2 separate regions of the Homo sapiens genome follow, and region 1 is linked to region 2. Evidence: promoter capture Hi-C in human tissues and cell types (Jung and others, 2019). All regions are on one chromosome and are shown on one strand. Each heading gives the region's core, a stretch centred on a gene start or on the middle of the fragment in contact. The rest is flanking DNA. Distances are from core to core; before and after follow the strand shown. Region 1 holds the start of TMEM160 (transmembrane protein 160). Region 2 holds the start of GIPR (gastric inhibitory polypeptide receptor).

Region 1 (5,751 bases), core at 325-2,824, 1.4 Mb after region 2:
AAATGTTAAAATTAGCAGGGTGTGGTAGCACGTGCTTGTAGTCCCAGCTACTCAGGAAGCTGAGGGAGGAGAATCACTTGAATCCAGGAGGTAGAGGTTGCAGCGAGCCAAGATCATGCCACTGCACTCCAGCCTGGGCGACAGAGTGAGACTCCGTCTCAAAAAAAATAAAGGATTCAAGATAGTCCCTGCAGAATGTGGAGGACAATCTAGGGGCAAAGTTGCAGAACCTCCATCTGAGGAGTCATCTTGGCCAAACCCCTCCCTCTACGTGTACCCCCACGGCCTGCCCACTCACTTCTTTCTCAGAACTCTGGGACAAACTGTTTCCTAATCCAGGCCGCTCTTCAGCCTCGCCCTTCTTTTCCTTCAAATGCCGCCATCTCCTACCGAGTATGGCCTGGGCCAATCCCATCCATGTCCTACCGAGTATGGCCTGGGCCAATCCCACCCACGTCCGTCCCCATTCACGTCCTTTACAAACAGCCCACCACACCCTATATCTAGATGCCCGGTCCTGGCCTAGTGAGGTGACTCACACCTATAATCCCAGCACTTTGGGAAGCCAAGGCAGGAGGATTCTCTGAGCCCAAGAGTTCAGACCAGCCTGGGCAACAAAGCAAGACCCCGTCTCTACATAAATTAAAATAGTTGGGTGCGGTGGTGTATGCCTGTAGCTCCAGCTAAGCAGGAGGCTGAGGCAAGAGGATAGCTTGAGCCCAGGAGTTCAAGGCTGCAGTGGGCTACGATTGCGCCACTGCGGTCCAGCCTCGGTGACAGAGCAAGACACCGTCATTAAAAAAATAAAATTAAAAAAAAAACAAACATGGCCAGTCCGCTCCATTCTGGACCTCGCCTCCGTCACAAGCCCCGCCCTCTGCAGCCTAGATCACCTCCCCCTCCAATCAGCAGAGAGCTTTCTCCCGATTGGTTGTCCCCTTCTCCAATCCTGAACTTCCCCCTCTTCTGCGGGGATCCACACTCCCGCTCTCTGCACAGTGGTGGCCTCTGCAATCGGGATGGACCCATCTTGTACCCAACTCCACAGACCCTAAGCTCTCCCTGAAGCCCCTCTCCCCACGGCAGGCGCGATTCTACGAGGCTGCCTCGCGCAACCCTACCACCCCCTCCAATCCCTACGGCGCCCCGTTACCCGGGGTCCTCGTCCTCCCCGCAAGCCCATCCCCTCTGCGGGCACCTGCGCTCTTGCAGTCTGCGCTTCCGTGCGCTCACACTGAAGCCCTTCTCGGAGCCGAGCCCGGGCCCCGTTTCCTGCAGAAGCCCCCGCCCCATCAAGGTCCCACGCGAGCCCGGGACCCCCGTCCCATCCGCACCGCCCCCACCCCTAGCCACCGACCTGTCTCGTGCGCTTTTCGGAGGAGCCAGGCGTCCGCACGATCCAGCTCGGACACTGGGGGCGGCGAAGCCCCGGCGCGGGGACCGTGGCCGGGGGCGAAGGACCCCCGGGCGCCCCCGCTCCGGGGCCGCTGAGGCGGCAGTAGCGACCTCCGGAAGCGAAGACGGGCAAGGCGAGCGGCCCGAGCCCACCACCAGCCGCCTCCCATGATTCGCACTACGGCCGCCGCGCGCCGTACCGCCCCACCGGCCTCCGGTAGGTTGCAACCCATGTCACTCAGGATGAATGGCTTACCCATTGGCTATGCGCTCGCCACTCAGGTCCGGCGTGAACTGTCCATTGGTCGGAATGGCAGTGATTCCCTCCTCTGTCATCTAGGCCGGTAGTGCCCGTCCCTCCTTGATTTTGTACCGGACTACGAATCCCAGCGATCATTGCGCTCGGGGAAAGCCGATATTCAGAAGTCGCAGGCGAGATGTCTGCTGGGAATTGTAGTTTTAATTCTATCTTTTTTAACGGAGTACATGCCGAGCACCTATTGTAGTTGTTTCTTGGTTGTTTCTCTTTCTTTCTTTCTCTTTCTTTCTTTCTTTCTTTTTCTTTCTTTCTCTTTCTTTCTTTCCTTCTTTCTTTCTTTCTCTCTTTCTTTTTCCCTCCCTCCCTCCCTTCCCTCCCCTCCTTCCTTCCTTCCCTCCTTCCTTTTTTTTCCCCGCCCCGAGACCGAGTCTTGCTCTGTCGCCCAGGCTGGAGTGCAGTGGTGCGATCTCGGCTCACTGCAACCTCCACCTCCCGGGTTCAAGCGATTCTCCTGCGTCAGCCTCCTGAGTAGCTGGGATTATAGGCATGCGCCACCACGCCCAGCTAATTTTTGTATCTTTAGTAGAGACAGGGTTTCACCATGTTGGCCAGGCTGGTCTCGAACTCCTGACCTCAAGTGATCCAACCGCCTCGGCCTCCAAAAGTGCTGGGATTACAGGCGTGAGCCACCGTGCCCGGCCAGGTCTGTCTCTTTAAGACAGATTTGTTTTCTTTGCCCTAACCCATTCCGGGATTCAGCTTTGCCTTCTCTCATCAGCATAAACCTTTTCACTAGCCAGGAATGTGAAAAATGTGTCTGGAATATTTTCAATTTGCACTTAATCCCATTTAAAGCTTCACATTCATTGCAAGCCTGCAGGCTATGCAGTGCAGTCCATTTGAACTCCCTCCTCAAGTGTAACCCCCTTGCTAGCTCCCCTACTTTTCCTCTTCATAAAATCCAAGCCCGGGCCAGGCACGGTGGCTCACATCTGTAATCCCACCACTTTGGGAGTCTGAGGCGGGCAGATCACGAGATCAGGAGTTCGAGACCAGCCTGACCAACATGGTGAAACCCCATCTCTACTAAAAATACAAAAATTAGGCATGGTGGCAGGCACCTGTAATCCCAGCTACTTGTGAGGCTGAGGCAGGAGAATCGTTTCATGCGCGTCCATGTGAAGAGACCACCAAACAGGCTTTGTGTGAGCAAGATGGCTGTTTATTTCACCTGGCTGCAGGCAGGCTGAGTCCGAAAAGAGAGTCAGCAAAGGGTGGTGGATTATCATTAGTTCTTAGAGGTTTTGGGATAGGCGGTGAAGTTAAGAGCAATGTTTTGCGGGCAGGGGTGGATCTCACACAGTACATTCTCAAGGGTGGGGAGAATTACAAAGAACCTTCTTAAGGGTGGGGGAGATTACAAAGTACATTGATCAGTTAGGTGGGGCAGGAACAAATCACAATGGTGGAATGTCATCAGTTAAGGCTATTTTTACTTCTTTTGTGGATCTTCAGTTACTTCAGGCCATCTGGATGTATACGTGCAAGTCACAGGTGATGCGATGGCTTGGCTTGGGCTCAGAGGCCTGACATTTCTGCCTTCTTTTATTAATAAGAAAAATAAAACAAAATAGTGTTGAAGTCTTGGGGGGTGGTATGGAGAGAGAATGGGCGATGTTTCTCGGGGCTGCTTCAAGCAGGATTAGGGGCGGCGTGCGAACCTAAAGTGGGAGAGATTAAGCTGAAGGAAGATTTTGTGGTAAGGGGTGATATTGTGGGGTTGTTAGAAGAAACATTTGTTGTGTAGAAGTATTGGTGATGGCCTGGGTACAGTTTTGTATGAATTGAAAAACTAAATGGAATAAGAGAAGGAGAAAAACAGGTATAAAAGGTCTAAGAATTGGGAGGACCTAGGACATCTGATTAGAGAGTGCCTAAGGAGATTCAGCATAGTCCTGCCAGCAAAGATTATTTGTTTACTTCAGGAGTTAAGAGTGGCAGTTTGGGGATAGCATGAGGAGATATCAGCTGTGATGGCTTGGAGAAACAGTGTAAACCAGCAGTGTAAACAAGAGCAGGGCACGTATGAGTAGTTGAGAACGGAGAATAGGAGTATGACTAGACAGAAAATAGTAGGGATGACAAGTTTTTTTGGGGCACAGTCTAAGTTGGTCCGGTGTCTGGAATGAGACTGGGGCCTAATAAAAAGGATTGTCCATACAGGAGCTCAAATAGGCTGTACCCTGCAGCATTCTGAGAAGCAAAAGAGGTAAAAGTATTGTCCAGTCCTTTTTAAGTTGGTGGCTGAGCTTGGTGAGGTGTGTTTTTAAAAGACCTTTAGTCCGTTCTACTTTTCTTGAAGACAGAGGACCGTAAGGGATATAAAGGTTTCACTGAATACTAAGAGCCTGAAAAACTGCTTGGCTGATTTGACTAATAAAGGCTGGTCTGTTATCAGACTGTATAGAGGTGGGAAGGCTAAACTGAGGAATTATGTCTGACAGAAGGGAAGAAATGACTGCGGTGGCCTTCTCAGACCTTGTAGAAAAGGCCTGTACCTATCCAGTGAAAGTGTCTGCCTAGACTAAGAGGTATTTTGGTTTCCTGACTCGGGGCATGTTGAGTAAAGCTAATTTGCCAGTCCTGGGTGGGGGCAAATCCCTGAGCTTGATGTGTAGGGAAGGGAGGGGGCCTGAATAATCCCTGAGGAGTAGTAGAACAGCAGATGGAACACTGAGAAGTGATTTCCTTGAGGACAGATTTCCACGATGGAAAGGAAATGAGAGGTTCTAAGAGGCGGGCTCATGGCTTGTACTATAGCATAGCCTGCCTTTGCTGGTGTGTGGCGATTAGGCCTGGTGGAACTGCCATCAATAAATCAAGCGTGATCAGAGTGAGGAACAGGAAAGAAGGAAATATGGGGAAATGGGGTGAATATCAGGTGGATCAGAGAGATACAGTCATGGGGGTCAGGTGTGGTATCAGGAATAATGTGGGAGGCCAGATTGAAGTCCGGGCCAGGAACAATGGTAATTGTGGGACTTAAGAGTGAGTGCAGCTGAAGGAGCCGGGGAGCAGAAAGTACATGCGTCAGGTATGAGGAAGAAAATAGATTTTGGAAGTTATGAGAAATGTAGAGAGTGAGTTGAGCATAGTTTGTGATTTTTAGGGCTCTAAAAGTATTAAAGCAGCGGCAGCCGCTGCATGCAGACATGAGGGCTAGGCTAAAACAGTAAGGTCAAGTTGTTTGGACAGAAAGGCTACAGGGTGCGGTCCTGGCTCTTGTGTAAGAATTCTGACCACACTAACCATGCCTAGGAAGGAAAGGAGTTGTTTTGTAAGGGATTGAGGTTTGGGAGATTAATTGGACACGATCAGCAGGGAGAGCACGTGTGTTTTTATGAAGAATTATGCTGAGATAGGTAACAGATGAGGATGAAATTTGGGCTTGACTGAAGTAATGGGGGCTGTCTGTGAAGCCTTGCGGCAGTACAGCCCAGGTAATTTGCTGAGCCTAATGGGTGTCAGGGTCAGTCCAAGTGAAAGCGAAGAGAGGCTGGGATGACGGGTGCAAAGGAATAGTAAAGAAAGCATGTTTGAGATCCAGAACAGAATAATGGGTTGTGGAGGGAGGTATTGAGGATAGGAGAGTATATGGGTTTGGCACCATGGGGTGGATAGGCAAAACAATTTGGTTGATAAGGCACAGATCCTGAACTAACTTGTAAGGCTTGTCTGGTTTTAGGACAGGTAAAATGGGGGAATTGTAAGGAGAGTTTATAGGCTTAAAAGGCCTTACCCATTGAGCAGGGTAAGGGTGATTAGGTTTTAATGAGATGGTAAGGGGTGCATGATCGGTTGCCAAGGAAGGAGTAGAGGTATCTTATACTTGTGGGTTAAGGTGGGGGAATACAAGAGGAGGACGCAAAGGAGGCTTTGGATTGGGAAGAAGGGCAGCAATGAGATGTAGCTGTAATCCAGGAATAGTCAGGGAAGCAGATGATTTAGTTAAAGTGTCTCGGCCTAATAAGGGAACTGGGCAGGTGGAGATAACTAAAAGGAGTGCTTTAAAGAGTATCGTCTAAGTTGGCACCAGA
Region 2 (6,206 bases), core at 3,707-6,206:
CATGGTGGTGCGCACCTGTAATCCCAGCTACTTGGGAGGCGGAGGCAGGAGAATCACTTGAACCCAGGAGGCAGATGTTGCCGTGAGCCGAGATCGTGCCATTGCACTCCAGCTTGGGCAACAAGAGCAAAACTCCATCTCAAAAAAAAAAAAAAATTGGCCAGGCGCAGTGGCTCATGCCTATAATCCCAGCACTGTGGGAGGCTGAGGCAGGCCAATCACCTGAAGTCAGGAGTTCAAGACCAGCCTGACCAATTTGGTGAAAACCCAACTCTGCTAAAAGTACAAAAAAAAAAAAATAGCCAGGCATGGTGGCAGGTGCCTGTAATCCCAGCCTCTCGGGAGGCTGAGGCAGGAGAATCACTTGAACCTGGCTCACTGCAATCTCTGCCCTAGCCTGGGCGACAGAGTGAAACTCTGTCTCAAAAAAAACAAAAATTTTGTTTTTAATTCTAGATGACGTGTTGATAGATGCAGCAAACCACCATGGCATATGCATACCTATGTAACAAACCTGTACGTTCAGCACATGTATCCCAGAACTTAAGGTAAATTTTTTTTTTTAATTGGAAAACTGAAAAAAAAAAATATTTTTTTTTTAGAGACGGGATCTGGCTATGTTGCCCAGGCTGGTCTCCAACTCCTGGGCTTAAGTGATCCTCCCATGTTGGCCTCCCAAAGTGCTGGGATTACAGGTGTAAGCCACCACACTAGGCTCTTAGCTCCTTTTCCTGTTTCACACCACCAGCTCATTTCCTCTCCACTGCTTCCCCCTCCCTGCCAGCCTCTCCCTTCCCCCTCTACAGCCTCCCCACCCCTCACTGCCTTCCTCTGTGGAGTGACCTCAGGCCCTCATTGGGGCCAAGGAGAGACTCCCTTCCAACCTAAACTTCTCCCAAGGTGCTGGGCAATCTCAGACCCCCTTCCCTCTCCACTCCAGGACAGGAGCCTTTCCCAGGACCCGGAGGGCACCAGGAATGTGGGGCAGAGAGCGGGGAGGCAGCCTAAGTCCAGGAAGCGAGAACCCTCGCCTCCCCCGAGACTTGTCTCCTTCCAGCCTCTGGTGCAGACCTCATGCCACCCCTTACTCCCTGTCCCTCCTGGGGCCTCTGGGCCTTAATTTCTCCTCTACAAAATGGGCAGACTCGCCTCTGTCCCACTTAGAGTCCCAGGGGAGTGCATGCTCACAAATGTCCATTGTATGATTAATGTGCAGGAATTGGAGTTTGTATTAACAGGAGATGAGAGCTGGGAGCTGGGACTGGGCTCTGAGCCTGTCCCCCACCCCCAGTCACGTACAGATGTTCCCCATATTTAGGGCAAAGGAACAGACTGGAAGTAGAGACAGCAGAGAATGTGTGTGATTCACTGGCGACTGTCATGATGAGACCATGTGAGGCTATGGGTTAGTGTGCAATTGTGACACGATGGTGTGTGTGACCCTGTGTGCACCTGTGTGACTGTGCGTGACTGTGGGAGGTGGGATTGCAGGGTGTGACAAGTCACTGTGACGTGCACAGCTATGGGACAGTGAGGTTGTGTGCGTGACATGTATATGACTGTATGTGACTTGTGAATATGGGTGAGACTAAGGGAGAGTTGTGAGTCTGTATGACCATGTCACTCAGTGTGACCGTGGGGGTGAGGGTGACGGTGTGAGAGTGTTTGCCTCATGACAGTTGGGGAATGTGTGTTGTTGGAATGTGACTGAGGACTCTGTGGGTGACTGTGAAGTGTGTGAGTGTGTGACGGTGTTAATGGGTGTGGTTGCATGACATTGTGTGTGACTTTCAGCTTGTGTCATAAAAAGACTGTATAATAAGACATTAAAAAAAAAAAAGGCCAGGCGCGGTGGCTCATGCCTGTAATCCCAGCACTTTGGGAGGCCGAGACGGGTGGATCACGAGATCAGGAGATCGAGACCATCCTGGCTAACACGGTGAAACCCCGTCTCTACTAAAAATACAAAAAATTAGCCGGGCATGGTGGCGGGCACCTGTACTCCCAGCTACTCGGGAGGCTGAAGCAGGAGAATGGCGTGAACCTGGGAGGCGAGGCTTGCAGTGAGCTGAGATCACGCCACTGCACTCCAGCCTGAGTGACACAGCAAGACTCTGTCTCAAAAAAAAAAAAGAGTCGGGCACAGTGGCTCATGCCTGTGATTCCAGCACTTTGGGAGGCTGAGGCAGGCAGATCACCTGAAGTCAGGAATTTGAGACCAGCCTGGCCAACATAGTGAAACCCCATCTCTTCTAAAAAAAAAAAAAAAAAAAAAAGCCAGCCACAGTGGCTCACGCCTGTAATCCCAGCACTTTGGGAGACTGAGGCGGGAGGATCACGAGGTCAGGAGTTCAAGACCAGCCTGGCCAACATGGTGAAAACTTGTCTCTACTAAAAATACAAAAATTAGCTGGGCATGGTGGCGCGTGCCTGTAATCCCAGCTACCCGGGAGGCTGAGGCAGGATAATTGCTTGAACCAGGACCCGGGAGGTGGAGATTGCAGTGAGCCAAGATCACGCCACTGTACTCCAGCCTGGGCTACAGAGGGAGACTCGGCCAAAAAAAAAAAAAAAATTATTAGCCGGGCATGGTTGCGGGCGCCTGTAATCCCAGCTACTTGGGAGGCTAAGACAGGAGAACTGCTTGAACCTGGGAAGCAGAGGTTCCAGTGAGCTGAGATCGTGCCACTGCACTCCAGCCTGGGCGACAGAGTGAGACTCCATCCCAAGAAAGAAAGAGAGAAAGGGAGAAAGGGAGGAAGGGAGGGGGGAGGGGAGAGGGGAGAGGGGAGAGGAAAAGGAAAGGAAAGTCCTTTGCAGCAACACAGATGCAGCTGGAGGCCAGTATCCTAAGTGAATTAACAAAGGAACAGAAATCCAAACACCAGATGCTCTTACTTATAAGTGGGAGCTGAGCACTGGGTACACATGGACACCAACATGCGAACAACAGACACTGGGGACTCCTAGAGGGGGCAGGGAAGGAGACAAGGGTTAAAAAACTACCCGTTGGGTGCCATGCTCACTACCTGGATGATGGGATCATTTATACCCCCAACCTCCGCATCGTGCAATACACCCCCGTGACAAACCTGCACATGTGCCCCCTGAATCTAAAATAAAAGTTAAGGCCAGGCGCGGTGGTTCATACCTGTAATCCCAGCACTTTGGGAGGCCAAGGCGGGAGGATCACTTGAGGCCAGGAGTTGGAGAACAATATGGCCAACATGGTGAAACCTCATCTCTACTAAAAATATAAAAATCAGCCAGGCGTGGTGGCATACACCTGTAGTCCCAGCTACTCTGGTGGTTGAGGCATGAGAATCGCCTGAACCCAAGAGGCAGAGGTTGCCAAGTTGGCGCCACTGCACTCCAGCCTGGGTGACAGAGTGAGACCCTGTCTAGAAAAAATAATAAATAAAATGAATTAAAATAAATGAATAAATAAATAAATAAAAGTTGAGGCTGGGTGTGATGGCACATCCCTGTAGTCCCAGCACTTTGGGAGGCCGAGGCAGGAGGATTGCTTGAGGCCAAGAGTTGGAGACCAGCATGGCCAACATGGTGAAACCCCATCTCTACTAAAAATACAAAAATTTTAGCTGGGTGTGGTGGCACACACCTGTAGTCCCAGCTACTCGGGAGGCTGAGGCAGGAGAATCTCCTGAACCCTGGAGGCGGAGGTTGAAGTGAGCCAAGATGGCGCCACTGCACTCCATCCTGGGTGACAGAGTGAGACCCTGTCTCAAAAAAAAAAAAGTTGAAATTATTTTTTAATAAAATGGTGGGGCATGGTGGCTCATGCCCATAGTCCCAGCTAGTCAAGAGGCTGAGTTAAGAGGATCCCTTGAGCCCAGGAAGTGGAGGCTGCAGTGAGCTATAATTGTTCCAGTGCACTCCACTCTCATAAATAAATAAATAAATAAAATGTAAAAAGGATTGTATGGGCCGGGTGTGGTGGCTGTCGCCTGTAATCCCACCACTTTGGAAGGCCAAGACATGTGGAACACCTGAGGTCAGGAGTTTGAGACCAGCCTGGGCAACATGGTGAAACACCGTCTCTACTAAAAATACAAAAATTAGTCGGTTGTGGTGGTGTGTGCCTGGAATCCCAGCTACTTGGGAGGCTGCGGTGGGAGAATTGCTTGAACCCAGGAGGCGGAGGTTGCAGTGAGCTGAGATCATGCTTCTGTACTCCAGCCTCAGCAACAGAGGAAGACTCTGTCTCAAAAAAAAAAAATTCTATGTCTGCGAGTAACCACACAACTGCATACTGCGTATATTTATTTCATGACAATCCTTCCTTGAACCCCTGCTCTTAACGATTTTGGGGACCCAGTGGTGACCCAGATGTCCTGGCTCTACCCTCCTGGGCCACACAGGCTAGCAGGGCAACAGTGTTTGTGATGAAACCCGGTGATTGCGTGAATGTGTGGGTGATTGACAGTGTTGTTGGAACTGTGAGACACTGTGAGCGTTACTGTGTGTGTGCAGGAGTCCATAGCCCTGGGTACATGACTGTGTGTCACAGTGGATGACTGTCCACCTGTGAGTGAGAGACTGTGGCTGTCTGGGTGTGACCATGGGACTGTATGGGTGTGACTGAATGTGTGACTGTGTGAGTAACAGCTTGTGAGGTTCTGTGACTGTGCCTTTCCATGGCTCAGCCTATGGGATTGTGTGTGACACTGCATGTTTGATTGAGTGACTGAGGCTCTGGGAATGAGTGGCGGTGGGGGCGGGTACCTGTGGGTGGGACAGCATGAGAGATTGTACACACTTGGTGCAGGGGTCCTCAGGACGATAAGGACAATTCAGTAACTGCCCTCCCTCATGACCTTGATGACTGCCCCCTGCTCGGCTCTCTGCCCCAGAGCTCCCCGCTTCCGTTCCCTGTCCCGCCTTGGCCCCGCCCCCTCCCATCACCCCGGGCTGCCAGCGCCTGTCACCTCTCCCAGAGCCGAGACAAGGCAGTTGGAGGCAGCGGTGGCAGGGGCTGCAGGAGCAAGTGACCAGGAGCAGGACTGGGGACAGGTGAGGGCTCCCCAATCCCAGCCCATTCTCCCTGCCCCCCCTTGACCTCTCAAGTCTCTGGCACTCTCCCTCTCTGCTTCTCTGCCCTGCCTTTGTCTCTCTGTCTCTGTGCCCACCACCATCTCTGCTCATCTCTGTCTCTTGATGTCTCTGTCTGCGTGTTTCCATCTCTGGTTAGCTGCTAGATAACTTCTCTTTCCCCTGCTCTGTCTCCCTCCACGTCTCTGCCTCTTCTTTGTCTCCTAGCCCACATCTGCGTCTCTTTCTCTGTTTGTTTTTCTCTGGTCTCTGGCTGGGGGTCTCATTCTGTCCCTCCGTCTCTGCGCCTCTCAGTCTTTACATTTCTGTCTCTTGTGTCTGTGACGCCGTTGTCTGTCCTTCTGAGGCTCGACCTGAGATCCTCTCTGCTTCCGTCTTTCTCTACGTGGAGCCGCGGGGGCGCGGGTGAGTGGGTGTCGGGCGTTAGACCGATTTCCAGGCATCTGCACATCTAACCCCGGATCTGTCGCTTCTCTAGTCCCTAAGTATTTGGATGCTGGGAAAGGGTTGTTCCACTTACTCTGGGCTTTATCTACCCCCAGCGGGGAAAGTTTTGTAAGGTCAGGTTCCTATGTGTGCTAGAAAACCCTTTGGGCTTGGAGAGTGGGAGCTCGGATGGGCGTTTCAAGTTCTCCACCAGGCTGTGGGAACTCAGATGGGCGTTTCAAGTACCCCACTAGGGGGTACTGAAAACCTTCAAGTTTTTCAGTTCCCCATAGAAAAGGGGTCTAGGCTGACGGTTTCTACCCCCTCCTCTCCAAGGCGGTCCCCGGGTTCCCAGGAGTCTGTAGGTCCAGACTTCGGTGACACTGACACTTCCGCCCAGCGTAGCTCTAGGGCAACCGCCCGCTCAGCAAACACCCCCCCCTTCCACCTTTGCTGCCCCAACAACAGTCAGGGGAGGCCGGGGAATCACTTAAGGGGCCCCGCCCACCACCGGAGTTCCACCCACTCCGCGTGCCTCTCCCTCCCCCCAGATCATCACGCCTGGGAGTTGCGGGAGCGGGTGCGCTGCCTCGGAGTCCCGCGTGTATACGGCTCCCCAGCCGTCTGCCCCTGTGTGTGAATCCCTGAGGCGGGGTGACGCTGGGGTTGGAGTAGGAGGGCAGAGGTGCTGACCTTGCCCTGGGACC

What was found. Contacts are between HindIII fragments. The study calls those that stand out against the background at their distance.
Region 1: the fragment with the promoter of TMEM160 here is called in contact with the fragment with the promoter of GIPR in region 2 in 1 of the 25 tissues and cell types used here (heart left ventricle).

The regions. Positions count from the first base shown.
Region 1 is chr19:47,047,050-47,052,800 of GRCh38, forward strand. TMEM160 (transmembrane protein 160) reads right to left here and starts at 1,575. Exons shown (of 3, transcript NM_017854.2): 1 at 1,358-1,575. The coding sequence starts at 1,565. RefSeq lists enhancers at 1,003-1,072, 1,582-1,876, 2,000-2,517, 2,518-3,035 and a silencer at 1,353-1,542. The HindIII fragment of the contact is 17,900 bases long and covers 1-5,751 here.
Region 2 is chr19:45,663,265-45,669,470 of GRCh38, forward strand. It overlaps GIPR (gastric inhibitory polypeptide receptor), which reads left to right and starts at 4,957. Exons shown (of 14, transcript NM_000164.4): 1 at 4,957-5,034. RefSeq lists a silencer at 4,842-5,001 and an enhancer at 5,382-5,661. The HindIII fragment of the contact is 19,339 bases long and covers 1-6,206 here.